Linked DNA regions of Homo sapiens: all the other regions are linked to region 3. The links are contacts of gene promoters, found by promoter capture Hi-C in human tissues and cell types (Jung and others, 2019). All regions are on one chromosome and are shown on one strand. Each heading gives the region's core, a stretch centred on a gene start or on the middle of the fragment in contact. The rest is flanking DNA. Distances are from core to core; before and after follow the strand shown. Region 1 has its middle 58 kb from the start of LINC01151. Region 2 has its middle 29 kb from the start of LINC01151. Region 3 holds the start of C8orf76 (chromosome 8 open reading frame 76). Region 4 overlaps LINC01151 (long intergenic non-protein coding RNA 1151).

Evidence for each region. The method cuts DNA at HindIII sites, captures the fragments that hold promoters and counts their contacts. A contact is called where the count stands out against the background at its distance.
Region 1: a contact is called between a fragment that was not itself captured here and the fragment with the promoter of C8orf76 in region 3, in 1 of the 25 tissues and cell types used here (aorta).
Region 2: a contact is called between a fragment that was not itself captured here and the fragment with the promoter of C8orf76 in region 3, in 2 of the 25 tissues and cell types used here (IMR-90 fibroblasts and dorsolateral prefrontal cortex).
Region 4: a contact is called between a fragment that was not itself captured here and the fragment with the promoter of C8orf76 in region 3, in 1 of the 25 tissues and cell types used here (aorta).

Annotation. Positions count from the first base shown.
Region 1 is chr8:122,635,121-122,637,820 of GRCh38, reverse strand. No RefSeq gene overlaps it. Among named protein-coding and RNA genes, the nearest start is that of LINC01151, 58 kb to the left of the region's middle. The HindIII fragment of the contact is 5,244 bases long and covers 1-2,700 here.
Region 2 is chr8:122,663,409-122,666,108 of GRCh38, reverse strand. No RefSeq gene overlaps it. Among named protein-coding and RNA genes, the nearest start is that of LINC01151, 29 kb to the left of the region's middle. The HindIII fragment of the contact is 4,474 bases long and covers 1-2,700 here.
Region 3 is chr8:123,240,105-123,242,804 of GRCh38, reverse strand. C8orf76 (chromosome 8 open reading frame 76) reads left to right here and starts at 1,428. Exons shown (of 6, transcript NM_032847.3): 1 at 1,428-1,575. The coding sequence starts at 1,459. All of the region lies in intron 2 of ZHX1-C8orf76 (ZHX1-C8orf76 readthrough), which reads left to right. RefSeq lists a silencer at 1,522-1,641 and an enhancer at 1,142-1,642. The HindIII fragment of the contact is 18,562 bases long and covers 1-2,700 here.
Region 4 is chr8:122,681,460-122,684,159 of GRCh38, reverse strand. All of the region lies in intron 2 of LINC01151 (long intergenic non-protein coding RNA 1151), which reads left to right. Among named protein-coding and RNA genes, the nearest start is that of LINC01151, 11 kb to the left of the region's middle. The HindIII fragment of the contact is 7,881 bases long and covers 1-2,700 here.

The DNA of each region.
Region 1 (2,700 bases), core at 99-2,598, 600 kb after region 3:
CTGTCAAGGAATAAGCATCTGAAGTAAAGGAAGTAAATCAGACAGGGAAAAGAGACAGAAGGCTTTGAGCATCGTGTGATAAAGATGACACATTCTAGTGACTCAGTGCCCTGTGACCTGCTGGGGATGCAAAAGGACCATAGTGAGTAGCTCTGTCCATGAGCACAAAAGGCCAGAAGCATCTCTGAAAAGTTGTGTCCAAGAACAGAGAGCACACTCAACAGTCTTGCTTCAACAATCATTTAATAAGACCCTTGGGTGGCTGACAGTGTGGAATGTTCTGGAGAATACCATCTGGCATTTGTATACATCTTTTATGTTGTCTAAGTGCCTTTCCTCACATCACGTCCTCATTCGATACCTTTGTGTCAGCCAGCATTCTTGGTGACCCTGGCTCATCTAAGTATCGAGAGATTTTTTGAACTATGCAGATGGGTCACACAATGGCAGGACCCAGAGCTCTCTGGGGCTGGGACGGGGGAGCGGGAATAAAGGGGTCGTCTCTTCAGGCTCTACCTTTGCCCTGCCTTGGTCCTGACTGTTCTCAATTTTGCATTTCCCTGTTCAGGAATCCGGGGTAAGGGTGTCAGATGGGCCCAGCCTGGGCACACTCCTTGGCCCAGAGACTATGGAGAAACCTTGATGAGAAGGCCCTTCCAAGCTGGGTAAAAAGCAAATTTTGTTGTTGACAGGAGAAGGGGGAATAAGCAACAGATGTTCCCTACATACCCTGTGAGGTGGGGCGTTAGGTGAAAGCATTACCTCCAAGGTACAAATGGGAAACCTGAGGCTCAGAGAGGTGAACTGACATGTCTAAGGTCACGCAGAGATATATAGCAGAGCACAGTTATGTCTATAGATCCTGCTTCTTACACCTAAAGGAGCAGGTGAATCTTGTATTCCGCCTAACCCTTTATCCTTCCTTACTGCTTGAATCACCTGCTTCTTACCCCTCCTCTGTAGCAGCCTCATTACCCCATCACCTGCCATCTCTGGACTGGGAAACATAGATTTTGACTCTACTCCTGGATCCCCAAATTTCCACTACTAACAAAGGATGCTTCTCACTGTGTGGTAATGGAAAAACGGTCAGTCCAGGTTGGCCTTCTGGACACTATGGAAGTCCTTTCTCACTTCTTGTTTCACTGATTAATCATTGTTGGGGATCTGGACCTTGTAGGAGGGAAGATCAGGACACTTAGGGAGTCATTTGTGAAGATCTCTTTGAGATGAGATTGCCTACAAGTGAGGCCTGGACATGGATTCATGGCCCCATCGCGGTAGCATTATTTAGAAATCAATGAACCTTTAGGGACAATGTTTCAAAAACACATGCTCTCTGTTGTCGTAGGAAAAAAGCCCATACTCCCTTGCCTAGCTCCGTGATGCCTCACTTCTGATGCCTGGAGTCATTGATGTTTATGGAAGGCTTCGGAGTCTGCACAGTAGGGAAGGATTACCTGCTCCACCAGTGATGTTTGCTATGGTCGTAGAATGGAGAGAGGTGGTGGGGAATGGTGCAGGTTTGATATTCTTGACTGCAGCTCTCCAGGCTCTTCTCCCAACTTAGCATTCTTGCTTTGTTTCCTCTTCCTCCTCTATGCTTTCTCTACCTTCTGGTGTTCAGGTTTAAAAATAGAAATTAAATGAATTGTTTCTTCAAATGAAATGCATACAGAAGCCCAATAGATAAAGTAGATAAAAACTGAGTTATTCTAGAGATGAATTGAGAGGGCCTTTGGAGTCTACTGTGGCTGTCTGAAAATCCCGGTGTGTGTGGTCAATACTCCAGCCACAATCCAATTCCTGCACTTCCTTGGACATGTTCCTCCCTCCCTCCCTCTTTCTTTTTCCCTTAACCTGGAATGACATCCTGCCCATCCTTCAAGATCCCAGGCCTCACCTGTTCCCTAAACCTTCCCTAATACCCTCTAGCTGGGCACACTGTCTCTCACAACAAAAGCATTCTCTTGAACTTCTCATGGCTTTTAGCGTTGCTCATTCAAGTCCGTTTTGTCCTGATACGCTGTAGATGCCTCTGAGTAGGTCCATGTGTGGTGATTAATCTGAGGTCCTGTAGTCAGTTCTAGTAAAAATGTTACTATTTTTATGTATGGATATTGTTTATTTTGTGTTACAGGTTTTGACAACTCTGTGGTTTTCTACCTCCTTATCCACCTACGTATAACCTTTCTGGACATCTTTTTGTTTTTGTAAAATTGGGATAGTAGTATTATTGGCTTCAGGGTTTCTGAGATGAGTTAGTTTAATTTATGCAAAGTGCTTATAACAGTACCTGGCACAGAGTATGTGCTCAGTAAATATTATTTGTTACTATTATTGTAATTATGATCTCAACACCATTAAGATAACGAGCCTTCTCCACCTTGACTTCATGCCCAGGCTCCTACCAGAGGGGAGGATTGCATTTGCTTTTCACGGGGATTCATGAAGAAGTGAACCTGTGGCTCTTGGCTTGGAGGCTGGGTACATGAAGTGAGAATTAGTCATGGCCTTGTTCACAATCTGAGAACATTCACACTTGTTGCACCTGCTCGGAGAAGCTTGAATTCAATCAGCAAATTTTGCATTTCCCAATCCCAGCCTGGGGAAGAGCTTGACTTTAAAAGCCTTACAAAGACCTCCTCTCCACCGCTCAGTGATTTCATTCAAGAAGTTGCCCCTCCAGGGAGCGAGTGA
Region 2 (2,700 bases), core at 59-2,558, 580 kb after region 3:
ACCACTTGCTGAGTTGTAGAAGTCTGAGGGAGGTGCAGGGTTAAGGGGAAAAATTAGGAATTCCATTTTGGACATTTCTAATAAGGGAAACAATGGATTTAAAGATAAAATGTGGGAGTCCTCAGCATGTAGACTGACTTTGAAGCCATGGACTGGATGAGATCACATGGAGAATGAGAGCAGAGAGAGGAAACAAGAAGGCTGAAAGTGAGCCTGGGGTCTGTCAGTCTATATAGGTCAGGAGGAAGAGGGGAATCCAGAGAGGGAGAGATGGAAGAGACAGATTGGGAAGAGGGGAAAAAAGAATGTGGGACTGCCTAGAAACCCAGTAAAAAAAAAGTGTTTCATGAAAAGAAGGATCAACAGTGTCAGTTGCTGCTATTAAGTAAGATGAGGATTAAAATCCATTGTTGGACTTGGTCAGATGCAGGCACTAGTGACCTTGACAGGCCATTGGTGACTTTGTTACATGGTGGGGGTAAAAGTCTGATTGAAATGGGTTGAGAAGAGCCCGAATGTTCTTCTGATTCCAAAGTCAATGCCTACCTTGTTTTGCTAAGCTGCATAGAAAGTTCTCGTGTGCAGGATGCAGTCACTGAAAATGTTGTAGAACTGAAGAATTTGTACCTCATTCTTGGAACCACTCAACCTGGAAGAACAACTCCCTACAAACGTGAAGGCAACTACCTGAGCATAACTGGTTCACTGCCTTTTCTTCTGGGAGTGTGTTGAGTAAAATTTGAACAGAAATATCTGTTTTTCCATCCAGGCTCTAGGCAAAGTCTCCTTCAATGATGGGGCATGGTACAAATTTGTTAGCTCCCTTAACTATGAAGACACAAGAAAAGGTTGGAAATTAGGATTAGGAAAAATAGAAGCTTATTGTTTACTGCCCAGCTTCAAGTACGGGAAATAAAACCTTTTTCCAAGAGCAATACATTGGATTAAATGAAGTAATTTTACTTCAGAATGATACTCCAAGGGGCTTTCCCAAGTAGTAAAACAGACAGCAAAAGCTCTGAAATAAAGTGAGAGAAAGGTGGGAAATGGAAAAGAAAATAAACATGCATCTATTACTGGGTGCATTTTTGTTTGGCCTGTAGGGCATTCCTGCTGACAGCCATTTCTGGCTGTGTATGAGATATGCCATGGAGACATGGGAGGACCAGATGGCACTTCTGAGCCTCACCCTCAGGTACTGATTGTATCCAAAATAAGCCAGGTTGGTAAGGCCAGGAAAACAAGACTTGGGGGATATTTTCTATAAACTGGAAAGACTTCCAACATCTTTCAAAGATGGTTATGGTTCTTGTCTCATAATCCTGTGCTCCCAGGCAATCGCAGTATTCCAAATATTTAATAACAAGTAAAGAAAAGGGCTTGAGTAATTGGAAGGAACTCCAGATCAATCAGAATAGAGGCTGACTGTATCCAAAATTTTAGCTAAATACTAGGCTTATTCCCTATGTCTAGTGAAAAGAGCATGGGTTCTACAGTTGGTAAAGGTTGAGTTCAATCTTGAATGCCTCTTAGAATCCTTTATTGCTCTGTGATTTGCTGAGCCTCATTTTCATCATATCTAAATGGAGGGAATACTATATCCTTGTACTATTTTGAAGATAAAATGAAATGTGTTTCAGTTGTCTATTGCTACTATATAACAAATCATCCAGAAAGCAACAATGATTCACCATTGCTTATGATTCAGTGGGTCAAGAATGCAGGCAGGTCTCAGCTGGGCAGTTCTTCTGTTCTGCTTGGTATACGCTAGGAGTCACTCATCCAGCTGTATCCATCTGGCAGCTTGGCTGGGCTGAAAGGTTCAGGAAGACCTCACACACATGTCTCACACCTCACTTCTCCTTTACATGGCATTTCTCCCAACATGGTATCACATCATTCAGGAATCTGAGCTGCTTTATAGCAAGCTGCCTGATATCTTCAAGTTTCACTCCAGAAATGGCACTGTGTCATTTCTGTCATACTGTACAGGACAAGGCAAGTCACAAGGCTAGGCAAGGTCCAAGGGGAATGGAAAGGGATCCTACGTCTTGATAGGTAGAGCATCATATGTGTACAGGGAGGGAAGGAATCACTGGTGACCATTGTTGGAAACTATCTACCCAAAATAAACCTTTGTGGCTCCAAATATTTTCAGACTAGCATCCAAATTCTTTGGCTTGGCATTCAAGGCCTATGATTATCTAGTCCCTGCCAGCTTCTCCAAGCCTCTTTTCTCAGTGCTCCCTTCCTTGAAGTTTCCACTGTAATCAAATAAACCTCTTGCCATAATTCATTCCAGCTTTGTGTCTTTACATATCTACTATCTCCAAATAAAATCCCCTTCCTTCATACACCTCTCTCTAACTCCGGCTTATATGTAAAAATTCTCCTCAGTGGTGCCTCCTCTGAGAGGTCTTCCTGACTCTGCTTCTGCCTCACTTCTGTGCACTAACTTCACTTAAGCAAAGGCTTCATCTCTTCATATTGATTCTTTCTTTCTTTCTTTCTTTCTTTCTTTCTTTCTTTCTTTCTTTCTTTCTTTCTTTCTTTTACTTTTCTTTCTTCCTTTTCTTTTCTTTTTTTTTTTTTGAGACAGAGTCTCTTTCTATTGCCCAGGCTGGAGTGCAGTGGCATGATCTTGGCTCACTGCAACCTCTGCCTCCTGGGTTCAAGCCATTCTTGTGCCTCAGCCTCCTA
Region 3 (2,700 bases), core at 179-2,678:
GTGAGAGTGAAGAGGAACAGGAAAAAAATCGGGGAAAACCTTTATGTTTATTTCCTACTGTGTAATATGGCACAATATTGTGCTGTACAGTATTGGCCAGCATTTTGTCAACAATCTTTACTTTCTAGAGTCAAGAAATATCTTAAAAGTATAAGAATTGTAGTAAATGTTAGTCTTAGAATTTTGAGATTTGGTGTTCTCCAGGTCGAATGAATGCTCCCTGATCTAGCCTCCCACGGTATATTTCTGTGTCTTTTCTTTCATAAATGCGTGAATGACTCCGGTCTTTGTTATTGGTGGTAGTGTCTCTTGTCCGGAAGCACGGAGAGTACGCATTCATTTCTGTATTTCCCAAGTTTCAGCCACATAATGACCGAAACTTAACAAGTTACTTAACCTCTCCAAACTCCAATATCTTCAAAATAGGATTTGCAAAATGGGAATCACTTTGGCTTTCATAAGGTGGTTGTTAGCCGAAAAGAAAAAATGTGCTTAACACAGTGACGGGAATGCACAGTGGTTGACAATTGGTACTTGCACCGGGCTTAGTGGCTCACGCCTATAATCCCAGCACTTTGGGAGAACGAGGTGGGCGGATCGCTTGAGATCAGGTTCGAGACCAGCCTGGGCAACGTAGGGAAACCCAGTCTCCACAAAAAATACACAAGTTAGACGGTCATGGTGGCGCGCGCCTGTAGCCCCAGCTACTTGGGGGACTGAGGCGGGATGATAGGTTGAGTCTGGGAGTTCGAGGCTGCAGTGAGCCATGATCTCACCACTGCACTCCAACCTGGGCGACAGAGCGAGACCCTGTCTCGAAATTATTTTATTTATTTTATTTTATTTTATTTTTTATTTTGAGACGAAGTTTCACTCTTGTTGCCTAGGCTGGAGTGCAATGATGCGATCTTGGCTCACCGCAACCTCCGCCTCCCGGGTTCAAGCGATTCTCCTGCCTCAGCCTACCGAGTAGCTGGGATTACAGGCGCGCGCCACTACGGCCGGCTAATTTTTGTATTTTCAGTACAGACCTGGTTACTCAATGTTGGTCAGGCTGGTCTCGAACTCCCGACCTCAAGTGATCCGCCCACCTTGGCCTCCCAAAGTGCTGGGATTACAGGCTTGAGCCACCGCGCCCGGCCTCTTATTTTAATTTTTAAAAAGGTACCTGCGAGTTTTAAACAGCTACTCTGGGGCCAGCGTGCTTTTTGATGCGTGCAGGTAAGGATCATTCTGTCCATCTCCTGACACAGAGAAGTCAAAACCTCCGTCCTGGGGTTCGGTCAGTTAGTGGGTCAGATAATCATCTCAGCTCAACCACTACTCCCAACCAGCAGCGGCCACGTCCCCGCGTCGCCCTCAAAGACTACAAGTCCCAGCGTGCCGCGCTCTGGGCCGTGGAAGCCCCGCCTTTTCCGGCGGGCCCCGCTTCCTCGTTGCCCCCGCCGCGGGCGCGAGATGGATTCCGGGTGCTGGTTGTTCGGCGGCGAGTTCGAGGACTCGGTGTTCGAGGAGAGGCCGGAGCGGCGGTCAGGACCGCCCGCGTCCTACTGCGCCAAGCTCTGCGAGCCGCAGGTGAGAAGCTGGGGCCTCTTCGCCTTATCCCGGGCCCCAGGCCTCGCCCTCCGCGGGGCCCCGGCCCCGGCCTCGGCCCCTCCGTCCGCGCGAACGCAAACCCTGGCAGGCTCCAGCGCCCGCCGCGTCCCCCGCCGTCCCTCCTCCTCCACGGGGAAGCGGCTTTCCCAGGCCCCATTCCGGGTCCATGGGCGAGAATCCCCGCGTTGTAAGCGGCTTGACTCCCACTTGGCATTTGGCCGGCCTGGCTGCTGCCGGCTGGTCTCAACGCCCCTGCCCTGCAATCTCCGGTACCTCCCGTTTGTCTTCACTGCTCTTACAGCTGGGCAGTCAGGCCTCCCAAAACGGTGACCTCCGGCAAACCCACTCTCCCCTCCCTCTTCGGCGAGCTCCCCCTGCCCGTACCAACCCCGCGCTGATGGTTAAAGTCCTTCAGTTATATCCGTTTTTCAAGGCACATCTTAAATGTCATCTCCTCTAGGAAGTCTTTTCTGATTTCGTCTTCCAGCCAAATATTTTTGTCTTTGGCCCCCTTCCCTCTATTTAGCTTCTACTTAAAGCACTTGTCAGTATTCCCACAAAGTCCTGAGACCCGGAGTGCTAAATGATCGCACCAGCATGGGTTCTTGATGCCCTTGGCAGTGCCTAACAGTTTTTATTAATAATAGTGACTCCGCGAATATTTTTGAATTAGTAGAGTATTACTTCCTATTCTTTCATGAGTGTAAATAGTTCATCAGTCAAAACTAATATTTATGGAAAATACGGAAGTGTTCCGGGCACTGTGGTGGGTTCCTTCGCATATACTGTCTCATTCGTTCCTCACAATTGTACTGACAAGATGCCAGGCACTCGATAATTACTGAATTGTGTTTTTGGTTATTTCAGTTGCATTTTCTCCTTATCACATACGATCTTTCAAAGTTACCTTCAGCCCTGGATCATGTAGACTCAAAACAGGGATTGGGCTTGGAAATCATGTGGCAGAACATTAAAAAAACTCTGGTTATGAGATAGGACTCTTGAATTCCAGTGTTGGCTTTAACCACTTGCCTTGAAGGTGTCAGCTCCTTATTTGTCCCTTCAGAAAAATAATACATGCTGGCTCACAGAGTTATCGTGGGA
Region 4 (2,700 bases), core at 25-2,524, 560 kb after region 3:
TTCGACTTGTAGATGAATATTTTCTTCCAAGGGAAAAACTTCATGATATATTATTCTTTGAGAAAAAAAAAGATTTGAATACCATGTAGCATATGATCCCAATTTTGGAAATTGTGTATATATTACACCATCATATTGAACAAGCAGGGACTTGTAGGATGCAACAGAAACGAATCGTATTTTTGGTCTCCCACTGTCTTGTTAAGCTTGTTCTGCAATATTTATTCTGCTCCTTAATAAAAGTGGGGCAAGTTCTACGAAGTCTTTTGTCGCCCTTATCTAAGAAAACATGATCCAGTTACTTCTTCCACAAAAACCCAGTCTCCATTGGTAATTAATATGCCCATTCCAGGATAAGGACCCAAATCCTCCCATCGACATTGCAAATGAAAATTTCCTCCCTCTCCCAGCTTTGCTGCATTAGGCTGGCACCTGCAGTGAGAAGGGGTTGTGGGGCTGTGCGCCTCTATTTGCTTCACCTGGTGCTTCCATTTTCCCTCCATACTCCCCCCACCCCTTGGCTTCTCCAGGATTGGCCAGGGCAAGAGGAGAAGAGAGGAGGGAAGCGGGTGGGAAGAGACTCACTCCGCTGGTGGTGTTCCAGCCATCTGGGGTTGACAGATGACTCACCTCATGGGTTCCTTCATGGGTAATTTGCAGCAACCGCCTCTTATCTGCCTTTGCCTGACTGGGAGCATGCATCTCTTCTGACCGTTCCTCCACTGCTTCTCCCTCACCCCCTAGCATCTGGCGCCGCACCTCCCAGGCCAGTTCTGCTCCATGGGAAACTCACACATGCTTTGCCCTGACAGACTCGGGAAAAGCAAGTCTCCCTCAACGCGATCACCTCGTCTCACTCCACCTTCGGCGCAACTGGCCTGCCGCCATCTCTCGCCCTTTAAATTTCTCAGGGTGAGCCAGACATCAATCGATGGAGTCTCCCGTGATCCAGGGAACATGCTGCAAGCCTTCCAGGAGGTCTCATGGAAGCCCCTTCACCTAGGCTTGAGGTGGTTAGAAACAGCCTCTCCCCAGAAGGGTGGGGAGTGTAAGGATTGGCAGCTATCTCCCCAAATTCTTGTCTAATCCCAGCCCAGCTCCAAATTCTTTTTTTTTTTTTTTTTTTTTTCAGAAGGAGTGTCGCTCTGTCACCGGGTCTGGAGTGCAGTGGTGCGATCTCGGCTCCCTGCAAGCTCCGCCTCCCGGGTTCACGCCATTCTCCTGCCTCAGCCTCCCGAGTAGCTGGGACGACAGACACCCGCCACCACGCCCGGCTAATTTTTTTGTAATTTTTTTTTTAGTAGAGACAGGGTTTCACTGTGTTAGCCAGGATGGTCTCGATCTCCTGACCTTGTGATCCACCCGCCTGGGCCTCCCAAAGTGCTGGGATTACAGGTGTGAGCCACCGCGCCCGGCCTCCAAATTCTTTAAAGTTCGGGTGGTGGATAGATTGGGGCCCTAAAACCCGTTTCTGACTACCTCCTGTGTAAGTCTTTGTGGTCTTTCACTTTTCCTTAGAAATGGGGTGCAGTCACTCTTGGTGTCTTGGAGCCTCGGCTGATACTAAAACAGAACCTGTTTTAACACACTGTTTTGCACAAACACAGAATAAAGAGGCAGACGGTATGCCTGTCAGTCTTGCAGAGGCCTCCGGGAAAGAGAAGATGGGGAACTGGATAGCATGATTTCCAGGGTTCCTTCCAACCCAGAGATTGCACGGCAGGCTGGCAGGGAATAAGAGAAAGCATTGGACCTATTCCCTGACTGTGCTATTAGAGAGACAAGACACGCACTAAGCACCCTGGTAGCAGATCATCACAAATGCTCTTGATGGTAATATAAATGCAACAACAATAAGTATGAACAGTCAAGCCTTGAACCGTTTGGAATGAGCTTTATGTCTCAGAGAATAGGGAGGAGTCAACTCACTGTTGTAGAAAGTTGCTGAGAGGAGGTAGACGTCAACTAAACTTGGTGTTCTGAGAACACGCCTTTAAACCTCCTTGGCCTCTCCTCCTGGGCACTTCGCACTTGTTTGTTCTCCCAAATGCCTCCTTGCCAGGAAATCAGTCCCAGTCCCTGTAGTTGGAGGTAAAGTTGTCATCTACTTTTTGCCATTGCACTTTATCTACACTACTTTTGTGCATCTTGTCTTATAATTGAGTGGAAGCCTCAGAAGGACAAGGGCTTCTTTCTTTACTCACAGTGATATTTCCTTTCTGGGCCCGGCACATGGGGACACACACATACACGCACACACACACAAACACGCACATGCACACACACATGCAAACACACACACATGCATATGCACACATGCCCACACGCACACACATGCACACACACGCACACACATGCACACACATGCACATGAGCACGTTGATATTATTCTTTTGTCCACGGCACTGAGTTAGCGGTTGGCTGAGTCAGGGTTGGAGCTGGGTTTCTGGGTTTCCACTGCACAGCTCTTTCTACCTCCTACCCTGGACTCTCCACTCTCTGGCTTCCCAGGTCTCTGGGCACCAGGAGGCTGGAAAGCACTTTGCTGGATATTCCAATTCTGTTGGCATTTGTGACTGAGGACATGTGCCCAAATTCATCCTGTGTGTTTCCAACTCAGAGCCTTCTGGAACAGAGGTGCTCCCCAGAGGTGGGGAAAATGCAGCCGGAGGAGATGGGTCACAGAAAGCTACACACCCG